Linked DNA regions of Homo sapiens: region 1 is linked to region 2. The links are contacts of gene promoters, found by promoter capture Hi-C in human tissues and cell types (Jung and others, 2019). All regions are on one chromosome and are shown on one strand. The core of a region is centred on a gene start or on the middle of the fragment in contact, and the rest is flanking DNA. Distances in the headings are between cores, read along the strand shown. Region 1 overlaps SMOX (spermine oxidase). Region 2 holds the start of MAVS (mitochondrial antiviral signaling protein).

Region 1 (7,271 bases), core at 4,237-6,736, 340 kb after region 2:
TTGGTGGTGGGATTACAGCCTCACTACTCAGGGTAGGTAGATCAGTACCAGCCTCACCTGGGAGCTAGTTAGAAATGCAGATTCTCAGCCTGGCCAACATGGCGAAACCCTGTCTCTACTAAAAATACAAAATTAGCCAGGCATGGTGGTGCACACCTGTAGTTCTAGCTACTTGGGAGGCTGAGGCATGAGAATTGCTTGAAGCTGGGAGGCGGAGGTTGCAGTGAGTTGAGATCATGCCATTGCACTCCAGCCTGGGTGACAGAGCGAGACCCTGTCTCAAAACAAAAACCAAAAAACAACAACCCCTGGCGCCCTAAACACACACACACACAAATAAATAAATAAATAAAAAGAAATGCAGATTCTCAGCCTGGCCAACATGGCGAAACCCTGTCTCTACTAAAAATACAAAATTAGCCAGGCATGGTGGTGCACACCTGTAGTTCTAGCTACTTGGGAGGCTGAGGCATGAGAATTGCTTGAAGCTGGGAGGCGGAGGTTGCAGTGAGTTGAGATCATGCCATTGCACTCCAGCCTGGGTGACAGAGCGAGACCCTGTCTCAAAACAAAAACCAAAAAACAACAACCCCTGGCGCCCTAAACACACACACACACAAATAAATAAATAAATAAAAAGAAATGCAGACTCTCAGCCCACCCCAGACCTGCTGGATTAAAAACTGCATTCTGGCCAGGGATGCAGGCTCCTGCCCATAATCCCAGCACTATGGGAGGCCGAAGTGGGAGGATGGCTTGAGCTCAGGAGTTCAAGACCAGCCTGGGCAACAAAGTAAGACCTCCATCTCAACAAAAAATTTAAAAAAAAATTAGCCAGGTGTGGTGGTGTGTGCCTGTAGTCCCAACTACTTAGGAGGCTTAGATGGGAGGATTGCTTGAGCCCAGGAAGTTGAGGCTGCAGTGGAGCTGTGATCATGTTACTGCACTCCAACTGGGGCAATAGAGTGAGACACTGTCTCAAAAATAATAAATAAAAACTGCATTTTATCAGGATCCACAGCTGGTGCCTTGCACCTTGAATTTGAGAGGAACTAGGATAAAGTCCAAATGCAAACTTGGGGTGCAAGAACTTGTACCTTGCCTAGACCTCACCTAGACAGCCTGCTTTCTCAAGGCCGAGCCCTGGCTGTACCAAAATTCTCACTGTCCCCCGAGCAAGGCCTGCTTTGGTACATTTTTGCCCCCACCTTTCCCTCTGTCTGAAATGTCCTTTGCCTGTCCGTTCACTCAGCATCTTCCGAGAACCAGTTCAAAGGTCCTGTCCTCTGGGAAGCTTTGTGGGATCCCCTGACACTGGGCCTCTTTTCTGGGCTTTCGGCGCCTTGTGCAAACACCCATTCCATCACATATGACGCTGTTTAGTAATTGGGTTTCATGTCTGGCTTCCTCACCAGCATGGAAGCTCCACAAAGCAGCAGCCTGGTCACCTTTTCTCTTCCAAGTGCCCAGAACAGCCCCTGGATGCTAACAGGGGCGCCGTAAAGGTTTGTCAAATTACCACCGACTTTATTGAGTGCTTTGTTCTTCCAGGTTCTAAGTGCTTTAGATACATGATTTCCCTTAATCCTTACAACCACCCTCCGAAGTAGGTGGTATAAACCCATTTGGAAGATGAGAAAAGCAAGGCTTAGGGAGGTTAAACCACCTGCCTCAAGTTGACAAGTAAGAGGCACAAAGAGCCTTTGAGACCACAGAGCCGGGACTCCTAATGGCCTCAAGACAGAAAGAGCCAAGGGAAGAAGCAGGGGAAAGTGGCCAGATAGGATGGGCAGCTCTTCATCCTGTGGAAGCAGCAGCACCTGCGTCTCAGAGCCTCTCTAATTTGTCATTGGGATGGGAGGTTCTGGTGGAGAGGGGTGGCCTTGTGGCCTTCTGGCCTTTGCTGCTCCTCCACCCTGACCTCCCCATCCCCGCCCCGCAGCCCATGCAGGTGCTGTTTTCCGGTGAGGCCACCCACCGCAAGTACTATTCCACCACCCACGGTGCTCTGCTGTCCGGCCAGCGTGAGGCTGCCCGCCTCATTGAGATGTACCGAGACCTCTTCCAGCAGGGGACCTGAGGGCTGTCCTCGCTGCTGAGAAGAGCCACTAACTCGTGACCTCCAGCCTGCCCCTTGCTGCCGTGTGCTCCTGCCTTCCTGATCCTCTGTAGAAAGGATTTTTATCTTCTGTAGAGCTAGCCGCCCTGACTGCCTTCAGACCTGGCCCTGTAGCTTTTCTTTTTCTCCAGGCTGGGCCGTGAGCAGGTGGGCCGTTGAGTTACCTCTGTGCTGGATCCCGTGCCCCCACTTGCCTACCCTCTGTCCTGCCTTGTTATTGTAAGTGCCTTCAATACTTTGCATTTTGGGATAATAAAAAAGGCTCCCTCCCCTGCCCCTCAGCTTCTCTCTGGTTTTCTCAGCCTCTGTGTATGTGTGTGTGTTTATTTCTGTCACACCGCCTTTGAGTGAGAGGGAGAAGGTTGGGGAGCCCTGGCCTGGCTGTGTCCCCAGAGGGAAGGTGCTGCTTTTACTGGAAGGGATGTCCCCTCCCCCCATCTGTTGGGGTGTTTACCTTCCTGCCAGTAAGGCCCCTCAGGAATACGGGCCTCTCAGTGTACACCTGCTCCTTCAGGTCTGGCCTGAGTCTGCTTGCTGGCCCTTTTTTTTGCTGGACTTCTCTGAGTTTAACTGAGTGACACACTGCCTGGAGTGAAGGAGTTCTGTGGGGGGGACCCCCAGTGGTGGTGGCTCCATGCCAAGCCTAGGTATGTTCATTGTTTTTTTTTTTTTTTTTTTTTTTTTTTGAGACGGAGTCTCGCTCTGTCGCCCAGGCTGGAGTGCAATGGCGCAATCTCGGCTCACTGCAACCTCTGCCTCCTGGGTTCAAGCAGTTCTCTGCCTCAGCCTCCTGAGTAGCTGGGATTACAGGCGCCCGCCACCACGCCTGGATAATTTTTGTATTTTTAGTATTTTTGTAGTTTCACCATCTTGGCCAGGCTGGTCTTGAACTCCTGACCTCAGGTGATCTACCCGCCTTGGCCTCCCAAAGTGCTGGGATTACAGGGGTGAGCCACCGCACCTGGCTTGTTCATTGTTAATTAGCGTCACCTGTCCACTGGGCTGTGGGTCTGGCCCCTGGGGTGGCCTTCTTTTGAACCTCTGGGCAGATGGTCATTCTGGGCTTTATTTTTTGACAGGGGGAATATCCTAAGGCCTGCCATTTATTGGGGAATAGATTTTTCTTCTCGTCAGCTGGGTTCAGTGCTCCCAACACTTTGGGAGGCTAAGGTGGCAGGATCACTTGAGCCCAGGAGTCTGAGGCTGCAGTGAGCCATGATTGCACCACTGCACTCCAGCTTGGGTGACAGAGTGAGACCCTGTCTCAGAAAAATAAAAGAAGGTGTTATTTGTAATCCTTTACATGTAAGCTGTCAAGCTTCTCAGTATTAAGGAATAATTCACACACCAAATATAAAGCAATCAATACTTTCCTTTACATACTAGGCATCTAGAAAAGGGTCCTAGGCTGGACATGGTGGCTTATGCCTGTAATCCCACCAATTTGGGAGGCTGAGGCAGGAGGATTGCTTGAGCCTGGGAACTTGAAACCAGCCTGGGCAACACAGTGAGACCCCATCTCTACAGATGTCTTTTAAAAAAGAAAAACTTCTTTTTCTTCTCTTTTTGCTGAGTAAAAAGACACATCTACCCCCTTATATATACTCACCCACATATATAGGTACACATACCTACATATACTCACCACTACACCTTACACATAACCCACATGACATATACAGGTACACACACCTACATACACTCACCTCTCTACCCTACACATATACCTACCTACATACACACACACACAGAACCTTAAAGAACAGTCATTTTGTTACTCCACATTTCTAGTGATGAAATTTGAATTCAGATCCACATGGCTCTGTCCATGTGGTTTAAGCCCAAAAGCTATATAAGAATACACTAAAATGTCCCCATTCACACTGTCCCCAGTCATCTTAAAGAACAGTTAGTCATTTTGTTATCCTAGATTTCTAGTGATGAAATTTGAATTCTACAGAGTTGAAGGGTGGGGTGATGGGGAGAAGTTATGAAGAGCTTAGGTCAGGTCCCCTTCATGGACATTTAGGGCCCTGCCCTTGACAGGACATGACAGCCCCTTCCTCCTCCCAGGTGATTGATTGATTGATTGAAATAGCATCTCACTCTGTTGCCCAGGCTGGAGACAGCGGTGCGATCATGGCTCACTGCAGCCTCAGACTCCTGGGCTTAAATGATCCTCCTTACTCAGGAGTGGCTGGGACTACAGGCATGTGCCACCATGCCTGGCTAATTTTTATTTTTATTTTTTTGTAGAGAGAGTGTCTCATTATATTGCCCAGGCTGGTAGGTTGTGATGGAGATGTCTAACACACAGACACACGTACACACATGCTTACCTGCATCCACTTACGCACACACACCTACATGCACAAACCTCACAGACATTTTGCTTTGCCAGGGTTGATCTGCCAGAAATCTTCATGGAGCTTATATCAAGGGATTCATACCCACCTGCTGGCATAACTGAAAAATGTCTAAATATATATATGAATTTTTTTTTTTTTTGAGACGGAGTTTCACTCAGTTGCTTAGGCTGGAGTGCAGTGGCATGATCCCGGCTCACTGCAACCTCCACCTCCCAGGCTCAAGCGATTCTCCTGCCTCAGCTTCCCGAGTAGCTGGGATTAAGGCACGAACCACCATGCCCAGCTAATTTTTCTATTTTAAATAGAGTTGGGGTTTTGCTATATTGGCCAGACTGGTCTCAAACTCCTGACCTCAGGTGATCCACCCGCCTCGGACTCCCAAGGTGTTGGGATTACAGGCGTAGCCACTATGCCCAGCCTATATATGAAAAATTGTCTGAATAGATGATCTGTTCATGTAGTTTAAGCCCAAAAGCTGTCCACGTGGATACAATACACTGAAATGTTCCCTCTCACAGTGTCCCCAGTCACTGTTGCCTCTCCCACAGCCCTAGGGGTATCCATTCCTAGATGTAAGTCAATATAAAAACACTCTTCTCCCTCCTTTTTATACAAAAGCACCAAAGTATTCATCTTGTCCTGATTTTGCTTGTTTTAGTTAACAATATGTCCTGTAGGCTGGGCGCGGTGGCTCACACCTGTAGTCCCAGCACCTTGAGAGGCCAAGGCGGGTGGATCACCTGAGGTCAGGAGTTCAAGACAAGCCTGGCCAACATGGTGAAACCCTGTCTCTACTAAAAGTACAAAAAATAAGCCGGGTGTGGTGATGCATACCTGTAATCCCAGCTACTCGGGAGGCTGAGGCAGGAGAATTGCTTGAACCCAGGAGGTGGAGGTTGCAGCGAGCCGAGATCGCGCCATTGAACTCCAGCCTGGGCAACAAGAGTGAAACTCTGTCTCAAAAACAAACAGAAAAACAAATAAAAAATCAAAAAAACCCACAATATGTCTTGGACATCTTTCTGTAATGGTACATAAGCAGACAATGTAAATTTGGACCTTACTTTGGTCAAAGCATGTCTGTCTCCTCCCTGGCCCAGGGTCACTTTATGGAAGCCACCTTCTATTACCTGTTACCTTCCATGACTCATAGTCTGCTGTCTGCTTCTGACTCCTCAGTTGTTGGATTTCCCCATCCACTGCAGTGGGATGGAGACAAGCAGCCCCATCACATAAGTATCGGGGAAGAAAGTGATAAATAGGTTCTCAGTGTATAGGCAGAGGAATTTTAAAGGACTCCATGGTGGGGTGAAAGGTCTGGAAATGTTTACTTGGTGACTGCACTTCAGGGAGCTTCATGGGTGGGTAAGAGGGAGGGAGAGAATATTCACTTAGTGCCAATTGCCTGGCACTATGCCATGTGAATGTGATACTGATTTGACAGTGATGCCAACTCAGGCTTTATTTATTCCTGTGGGCAAGTGAAACCTCAGAGAAGTTAAGTAACTTGCCCAGGGTTGCTCAGAGGTGCCGAGACATGAGCTGAAGTCTGTCTGACTGCGTGGTGTAGGCTCGTTCTATTGTATGATGAAAAGAAGAGGCTGGTGCCACCAAAAAAGCTTAAGGCCATTGCTGGAGAGAGTGGGTGTGGTACGACCACACTGGGGGACTGTGGCGGAGTCAGCTAAAACTGGCCATGTGCTTGCCAGCGTTCCCACCCCTGGGTATACACCCAAGAGAAAGGCGTGCAGGTGCTCACCAAACATATATACCAATGTGTCCACAGTAACATGGACCCTAACAGCTAAAAAACTGGAAGCTGCCCAGATGTCCATCAACAGTAGAATGAATTCCAGTGCACTCACACAATGGAATACTATATAGCAATAAATAAAAGGAATGGATATTTGCAACAACATGGATTAACCTCAAAAATGTTATGTTGGCAGGGTATGATGGCTCATGTACCCCCAGCACTTTGAGAGGCCAAGGCAGGTGGATTGCTTGAGCTCAGGAGTTCAAGACCAGCCTGGGCAACAAGGCGAAACCCCGTCTCCACAAAAAATACAGAAATTAGCTGGGCATGGTGGTGCGTGCCTATAGTCTCAGCTACTGGGGAGGCTGAGGTGGGAGAAATGCTTGAACCCAGAAGGTTGAGTCCGCAGTGAGCTGTGATCATGCCACTGCACTCCAGCCTGAGCAACAGAGCAAGATTCCATCTCAAAACAGCAACAGCAACAACAACAACACAACAAAAACCCTCAAAACATTATGTTGAGTTAAAGAAGCCGGACAAAAGGCTATGTACTATATGATTTCTTTTATGTAACGTTCAAGAACTTGCAAAACTAATCTACTGTGTTGGAAATGAGGGGCTGGGGGTGGCGGCTGGGCAGGAGTGGGATGGGGGCACTTCCTGGGGTAACGGAAGTGTTCCACATCTTGATCTGGGTGGCGGTTGCATGGGCATACACGTTGGTAAAAATGCATCAAGTTATACATGGAAGAAAGTTTCAAGAGTCTGAGAATGCCTCCCTCCATTCTCCCATTCCAAAACATGGTCATATTGGCCCAGCTAATTTCCTCCTTGCAGCAGAGATGACACATCTGAGAGCAGATAAAGGGAGGAGGGGCCCTCTTAGGCCCCACTGGCTGCCTGGTGATAAGCAGTGACCTCAAATTAATATAGGATGTCACTGTTTACCAGCTCCATTGCCTGTATCCCCTTATCCTCTCTGCATCTGCAACCACGAAAGAGGGGTTGGGATTGTTCCACAGCAGAG
Region 2 (6,567 bases), core at 462-2,961:
TGTAGTCCCAGCTACTCGTGAGGCTGAGGCAGGAGAATCACTTGAACCCGGGAGGCGGAGGTTGCAGTGAGCCGAGATTGGGCCACTGCACTCCAGCCTGGGTGAAAGAGTGAGATTCTGTTTCAAAAAAAAAAAAAAAAAAAAAAAAGAGAAATGTGGCTCGTGGGTCTCAGGAACTGGCTTCTAAGTATTATTTAATTTTAATTAAAATAGCTACATGTGGCTAGTAGCCATTGTATTGGATAGGACAGCTGTCAAATGTCTCTCGTTTTGGGTTTGCTTACTGTTTCCCTATGATTAGTTTCAGATCATGAGCTTTTGATAGGAATACCATAAGCATGTTGTTGTGTTCTTCTTTGTCTAAATCTTTATAAAAGCTGTTGATAGGTGGCAGGGAACCACCTAGTCAGGCAGTGGGATTGTTTGAATGCTCTTTGAGGTCCAGCAAAGACAGGAGTGATAGCTGCACTTGGAAGCCCGCTCCTACACTTTCAATGTTCTTCCTGAAAGAATTAGATATGAAGCTGCTAGAGCTGCTCCGGTGGGGAGCAGGCAGGATTGATTCTTGAACTAATCAACATTTATGCCCTCTTGGCTAAACTAGGCAGAGCTGGTTTTATTACAGTTCAGGTGTGATTAAGCATACTTTGTAAATGCTGAAGGTTGTGAAATATTCACAGGGATATAAAGTACAGTAATAAAACCTCACTTGAGGCTGGGCGTAGTGGCTCACGCCTGTAATCCCAGCACTTTGGGAGGCCGAGGTGGGAGGATCACCTGAGGTCAGGAGTTTGAGACCAGCCTGGCCAACATGGTGAAACTCCGTCTCTACTAAAAATACAAAAATTAGCCGGGCGCAGTGGCATGTGCCTGTAATCTCAGCTACTTGGGAGGCTGAGGCAGGAGAATTGCTTGAACCCAGGAGGTGGAGGTTGCAGTGAGCCGAGATCGCGCCATTGTACTCCAGCCTGGGCGACAGAGCATGACTCTGTCTCAAAAAAAAAAAAAAAAAAAAAGAATAGAAGACCCTGTGCCTGGAAGATCGTAGGTGCTCAGTAAGTGCTGGCCTCTGCCCCAGAAGGGGAAGGGCGAGGCAGATGGCAGGAACTGCGGGAGGTACCTGTCCCAGGCCCTTGGGCGTAAGAGGCCTCTCCCACGCAGCACCCAACCCATACCCAGCCTGCCCGCCAGCCAACCTTGGCGTCCCTGCCTTGCGCCTACCTACCCAGCAGTCCCCCGCCCGCTCCCACTCCCACAGGCCCAGCGTGCACGTCTCCAGGATAGGCATCCTTGCCCCTGTGACTTCAGCGGCACCCAACGTTTATTGGGCACTAACTGTATGCCAGGCCATGGGGGTGCCGGAGAGAACGACACGAAGACCCTCACCCCTCAAAGTTCCCAGGGGGAGGAGGGGCTGCTTCACTTGGGAAGCGTGGGGATGGAATTCTCAGCCCCCCGATGACTCCGAGGCCGGCCACCTGCCTGGTTTCTGGCCGGACACCGGACTTCCCCTGGAAGTTGCTCGAGACTGCGCGCCCCCAGCAAAAAATCAGGTCGGTTCTCCGAGCCCAGTCTAGCGCTTCCCGACCCGCAAACCAAGGCCCAGTGACCGTCCCCGCTGCGCAGCCGCCTGCGTCGCCAGCCAACCACGCGCGGCCGAGTAGCCCCGCCCCTCCACATGGCCAATGGCCGCGCGCTCTGCCCGCCCCGCCTCCTCGCTGCGGGAAGGGTCCTGGGCCCCGGGCGGCGGTCGCCAGGTCTCAGGGCCGGGGGTACCCGAGGTAAGATCGCTTCCCGGGCGTTGGGTCCTTTCGGCTCAGCACGCACGGACGCCTTTAGGGAAGGTGGCTGCAGCGGCAGGACGGAGTCCGCCGGGACGCCCTGGGTCTGGGGTGCGCGGGGGGCCCAGGAGGGGACAGGACGCGCGGGGATCCGGAAGAGCGGGCCCTGTCGCAAGAGTTTCGGGAACACTGAGGGCTCCAGGCGCCGCATCCAGCATCCGGGGAAAAGGGGGTAGGTGGCGCTGGGCGTCTGCTCAGGCTGGGGGAAAGGTAGGGCCAGAAGGGGACGGGCAGCGGCCGCTGACCTCCTCCTGCCGCCCGCGGGCCCAGGGTGACGCTAAGGTGGGGCCGAGCCTCGACCGGGTGCGCCTAGAGGTCGAGTGCTGCCGCCCTCCGCTGGGTCTGGACAGTTCTCGGCGGCGACACCAGCTCAAAACGGCCTCCCCGCCCTCCGCGGACCTGGGTCGCGCCCAGGAATCCGATCCAAGGCTGTGAGGCCTGTCCCTTTGGGAAGGGTGGGTGTTTATTTCCGGGATGCACTCAGAGCCTCTGGACAGTCAGGTCGGAAACTTTGCTGTATTGGGAACACTCTGTCACCTACTTCCTTCTCAGTTGGGAAGGAAGTGCCAAGAAAACATGAAACAAACCAAAAACACGAAAAAGGGATTCTCTGTATGGAAGCCGTGAAGCCTCAAAAATATCTAGGAGGACAGCCAGCGACCTGGGACCTGTGGCAGCCATGTGAAAGCAGGGTTAATGTCTGGACTAAATGTTGCTTCCACCTAAGTGCACCCTCAGCCTCCCTCCCGCCAAGTGACCTTGGGTCCTCTTTGGGCTTGAAGGCAGGTGGCTGTGTGGGTCTCGCTGCAGGGGTCTCTGTGCCCTGCAAGGTGTATGACCAGTTGCAGTGAGGCAGCAGGTTTTGGGTTCAAATCCTGTGCTAGCCTCTGGCCAGCTGTGCACCTTGGCAACACTTTCCCTGTCACGGGATTGGGGAAGGATTAACTGAAAGAACCTTAGGATGTGCCTGTCTACAATGGGCCCTCCATAAATGTGAACAAATGTGGGCTTCCTTTCCTTTTGTTTGGGCCACATCATCCCTTCCCCTCCATCTGTGGCTGAAGCTGGAATGCAGAAGAGTGCCTCATCTGACTGCCTTCTGGTACCTGGCTGATGCCATGAGAAAGGAAGGAGAAAGGGGTCTTTTTTTTTTTGAAATGGAGTCTCACTCTCTTGCCCAGGCTGGAGCGCAGTGGTCCAATCTTGGCTCACTGCAACCTCTGCCTCCTGGGTCTAGAGATTCTCCTGCCTCAGCCTCCTGAGTAGCTGGGACTACAGGTGTGTGCCACCATGCCTGGCTAATTTTTGCATTTTTAGTAGAGACGGGGTTTCACCATGTTGGCCAGGCTGGTCTCAAACTCCTGACCTCAAGTGATCTGCCTGCCTCGGCCTCCCAAAGTGCTGGGATTCCAGGCGTGAGCCACCGCGCCCGGCCGAGAAAGGGATCTATTAACTCCCATAGAGTTGTTCTTTGCTAATTTCTTGAAGGCTCAGAGGACCCCCGCCTCACCTTCCTGATTCTCCTGACCTGTCATTAGTACTTGCCCCACGAGGAATGTAGCAGGGCCTGCTGGCTGGCAAAGCAACTCATGCATGTGAGGCTCTGAGGCCAGTGACAGGACTGCTTCCCCTGTGAGGAAGGTCTGGTGGCCCAACAGCTTTTAGGTGCTGTCTGCTCTACAGCACTGCCTCCTGAGAGAGGTCTCATGCCTGCCTGATGCCCACTTGGTCCTCTCCTGCCTCCTTCCCTCCCTGACAACCCACTTGGAATCCAATAGCATCTCAAACTTCACTTGTTCCGAACTGAGTTCTGGAGTCCCTTCTGAGCCACTGCTCCTCCCCTGGCTTCTCTGGCCTGGTAAAAGGGCACCTTCCATCCACCCAGTGCCCAAGGAGTCATGCTTCTTTTCTCTCCCTTATCTCCTACACCCTCAAAACACCAGGAATCTGGCTGCCTCCTGCCATCTCTGTGGTTCCCATCCTGACCATAGTCATCCTGTCTCCTGGGCTGTGGCCTCCTTACTGGTCTCCCAGTTTTCATCCTGGCCCCTCCAAAGTCCTCACAACCACCAGAGAAGTCTTTAATGTAAATCAGATCCTCTTCTTTCCCTGCCGGAACCTTCCAGTGGTTCCCTGTTTCACTCCAACTAAAACCCAGAGTCCTTTCCTACAGCACTCTACATGAGTGGCCCCTGCCACCTCCTTGACCTTGACAATCTCTGCCCCTTTCCCTAGCTTGCTTGCTTTTTTTTTTTTTTTTCCTATGATGGAGTTTTGATCTTGTCACCCAGGCTGGAGTGCAATGGGATGATTTCAGCTCACTGCAACCTCTGCCTCCTGGGTTCAAGCGATTCTCCTGCCTCAGCCTCCCGAGTAGCTGGGATTACAGGCGCCCACCACCATGCTAATTTTTGTATTTTTAGTAGAGAAAGGGTTTCACCATGTTGGCGAGGCTGGTCTCAACCTCCTGAGCTCAGGTGATCCACCCGCCTAGGCCTCCCAAAGTGCTGGGATTATAGGCGTGAGTCACGCAGCCAGCCATCCCTAGCTTTCTTGACCTAGACCACACTGACCTGCTTTCTATTCTTCAAACATGCCAAGCTCATTCTTGTTTTAGGACTTTTGCATTTACCATGCTCTCTGCCTAAAACACCAATCTTCTCAGAGCCTGAGAACAGCTCAGCTGTGTTCTGCACGCTAGTTCAGAAAGGCTTCTTTGACCCCCTAGTTCAAGTAGCATGCCTGTCTCCAGGGGCTCTGTCTCATTACCTGCTTTACTTTCTTTAGAGCCTTTATTGCTATCTGGAACTCTTATTTGGGTATTAATTTACTGATCTGTTATTTGTCCCACCCCATTAGAATATAAATTGGATGTGGCATAGACCTTGTCTCTTTTATTCCCTGCAGCACTCCCTGATGGGGGCGGCAGAAAAGTAACGAGCAAATACATCTATAACTGCAAATTGTGGTAACTCCTACATAAACAACTGGCAGCAATTGCTTATATTTGAGGCACTTAAAAATTTTTAAGCTGGCTGGGCGCGGTGGCTCATGCCTGTAATCCCAGCACTTTGGGAGGCCGAGGCGGGCAGATCACGAGGTCAGGAGATCGAGACCATCCTGGCTAACACGGTGAAACCTGTCTCTACTAAAAATACAAAAAATTAGCCGAGCGTGGTAGCAGGCGCCTGTAGTCCCAGCTACTTGGGAGGCTGAGGCAGGAGAATGGTGTGAACCCGGGAGGCGGAGCTTGCAGTGAGCCGAGATTGCACCACTGCACTCCAGCCTGGGTGAAGGAGCGAGACTGTCTCAAAAAAAAAAAAAAAAAAAAAAAAAGAAATTTTTTTAAGCTGCTGGGCGCGGTGGCTCACGCCTGTAAATCTCAGCACTTTGGGAGGCCGAGGTGAGCGGATCACCTGAGGTCGGGAGTTCGAGACCGGAACATGGTGAAACCCTGTCTCTACTAAAAATACAAAATTAGCGGGGCGTGGTGGCTCATGCCTGTAATCCCAGCTACTTGGGAGGCTGAGGCAGGAGAATCGCTTGAACCCAGGAGGCAGAGGTTGCAGTGAGCCGAGATCGCGCCATTGTACTCCAGCCTGGGCAAAAAGAGTGAACTCCATTTCAAAAAAAAAAAAAAAGGCCAGGCGCAGTGGCTCACGCCTGTAATCCCAGCACTTTGGGAGGCCGAGGCAGGCGGATCACGAGTTCAGGAGATTGAGACCATCCTGGCTAACACGGTGAAACCCTATCTCTACTAAAAATACAAAAAATTAGCCGGGTGTGGTGGCGGGCGCCTGTGGTCCCAGCTACTCGGGAGGCTGAGGCAGGAGAATGGTGTGAACCCAGGAGGTGGAGCTTGCAGTGAGCCGAGATTGCACCACAGCACTCCAGCTTTGGTGACAGAGCGAAACTCCGTCTCAAAAAAAAAAAAAAAAAAAATTTAAGCTTAGAGGCCGGCCACAGTGGCTCAGCACTGTGCAGGCCAAGGCAAGAGGATCACTTGAGGTCAAGAGTTCGAGACCAGCCTGGCCAACATGGTGAAACCCTGTCTCTACTAAAAAATACAAAAATTGGCCAGGCGCGTTGGCTGGCGCCTGTAATCCTAGCAACTTGGGAGACCAAGGCAGGCAGATCACCTGGGGTCAGGAGTTCAGGACCGGCCTGGCCAACATTAAAACATATAAAACCCCGTCTCTACTAAAAATATAAAAATTATCCAGGCATGGTGGCGTGTACCCGTAATCCCAGCTACTCGGGAGGCTGAGGTAGGAGAATTGCTTAAACCCGAGAAGCAGAGGTTGCAGTGAACCGAGATTACGCCACTGCACTCCAGCCTGGGCAACAGAGCGAGACTCTTTCTCAAAAACAACAACAACAACAAACAAACAAATTAGCCAGGCATGATGGTGGGCACGTGTAATCCCAGCTACTCGGGAGGCTGAGGCAGGAGAATTGCTTGAATGTGGGAGATGGAGGCTGCAGTGAGCCGAGATCACACCACTGCACTCCAGCCTGGGCGACAGGGAGACTCTGTCTCAAAAAAAAAAAAAAAAAAAAAAGTTTATAAGGCTGAATTACCGTACTGTCAAAACAAGCTGCTATCTGAGCCGTTTTAAGGGTGAGGAAGTCTGGAAACTGATAACTTGCCCAGGACACACAGTGAGTTCAAGGCATGGAACTCAGTCTCCTATCTTAAGAATGTATGTGGGCCGGGCATGGTGGC

What was found. Contacts are between HindIII fragments. The study calls those that stand out against the background at their distance.
Region 1: a contact is called between a fragment that was not itself captured here and the fragment with the promoter of MAVS in region 2, in 1 of the 25 tissues and cell types used here (dorsolateral prefrontal cortex).

The regions. Positions count from the first base shown.
Region 1 is chr20:4,185,328-4,192,598 of GRCh38, forward strand. SMOX (spermine oxidase) reads left to right here. Exons shown (of 7, transcript NM_175839.3): 7 at 1,943-2,400. The coding sequence ends at 2,080. Among named protein-coding and RNA genes, the nearest start is that of LINC01433, 4.1 kb to the right of the region's middle. The HindIII fragment of the contact is 6,243 bases long and covers 2,366-7,271 here.
Region 2 is chr20:3,845,123-3,851,689 of GRCh38, forward strand. It overlaps MAVS (mitochondrial antiviral signaling protein), which reads left to right and starts at 1,712. Exons shown (of 7, transcript NM_020746.5): 1 at 1,712-1,781. RefSeq lists silencers at 1,129-1,178, 1,609-1,988 and an enhancer at 5,722-6,223. The HindIII fragment of the contact is 19,994 bases long and covers 1-6,567 here.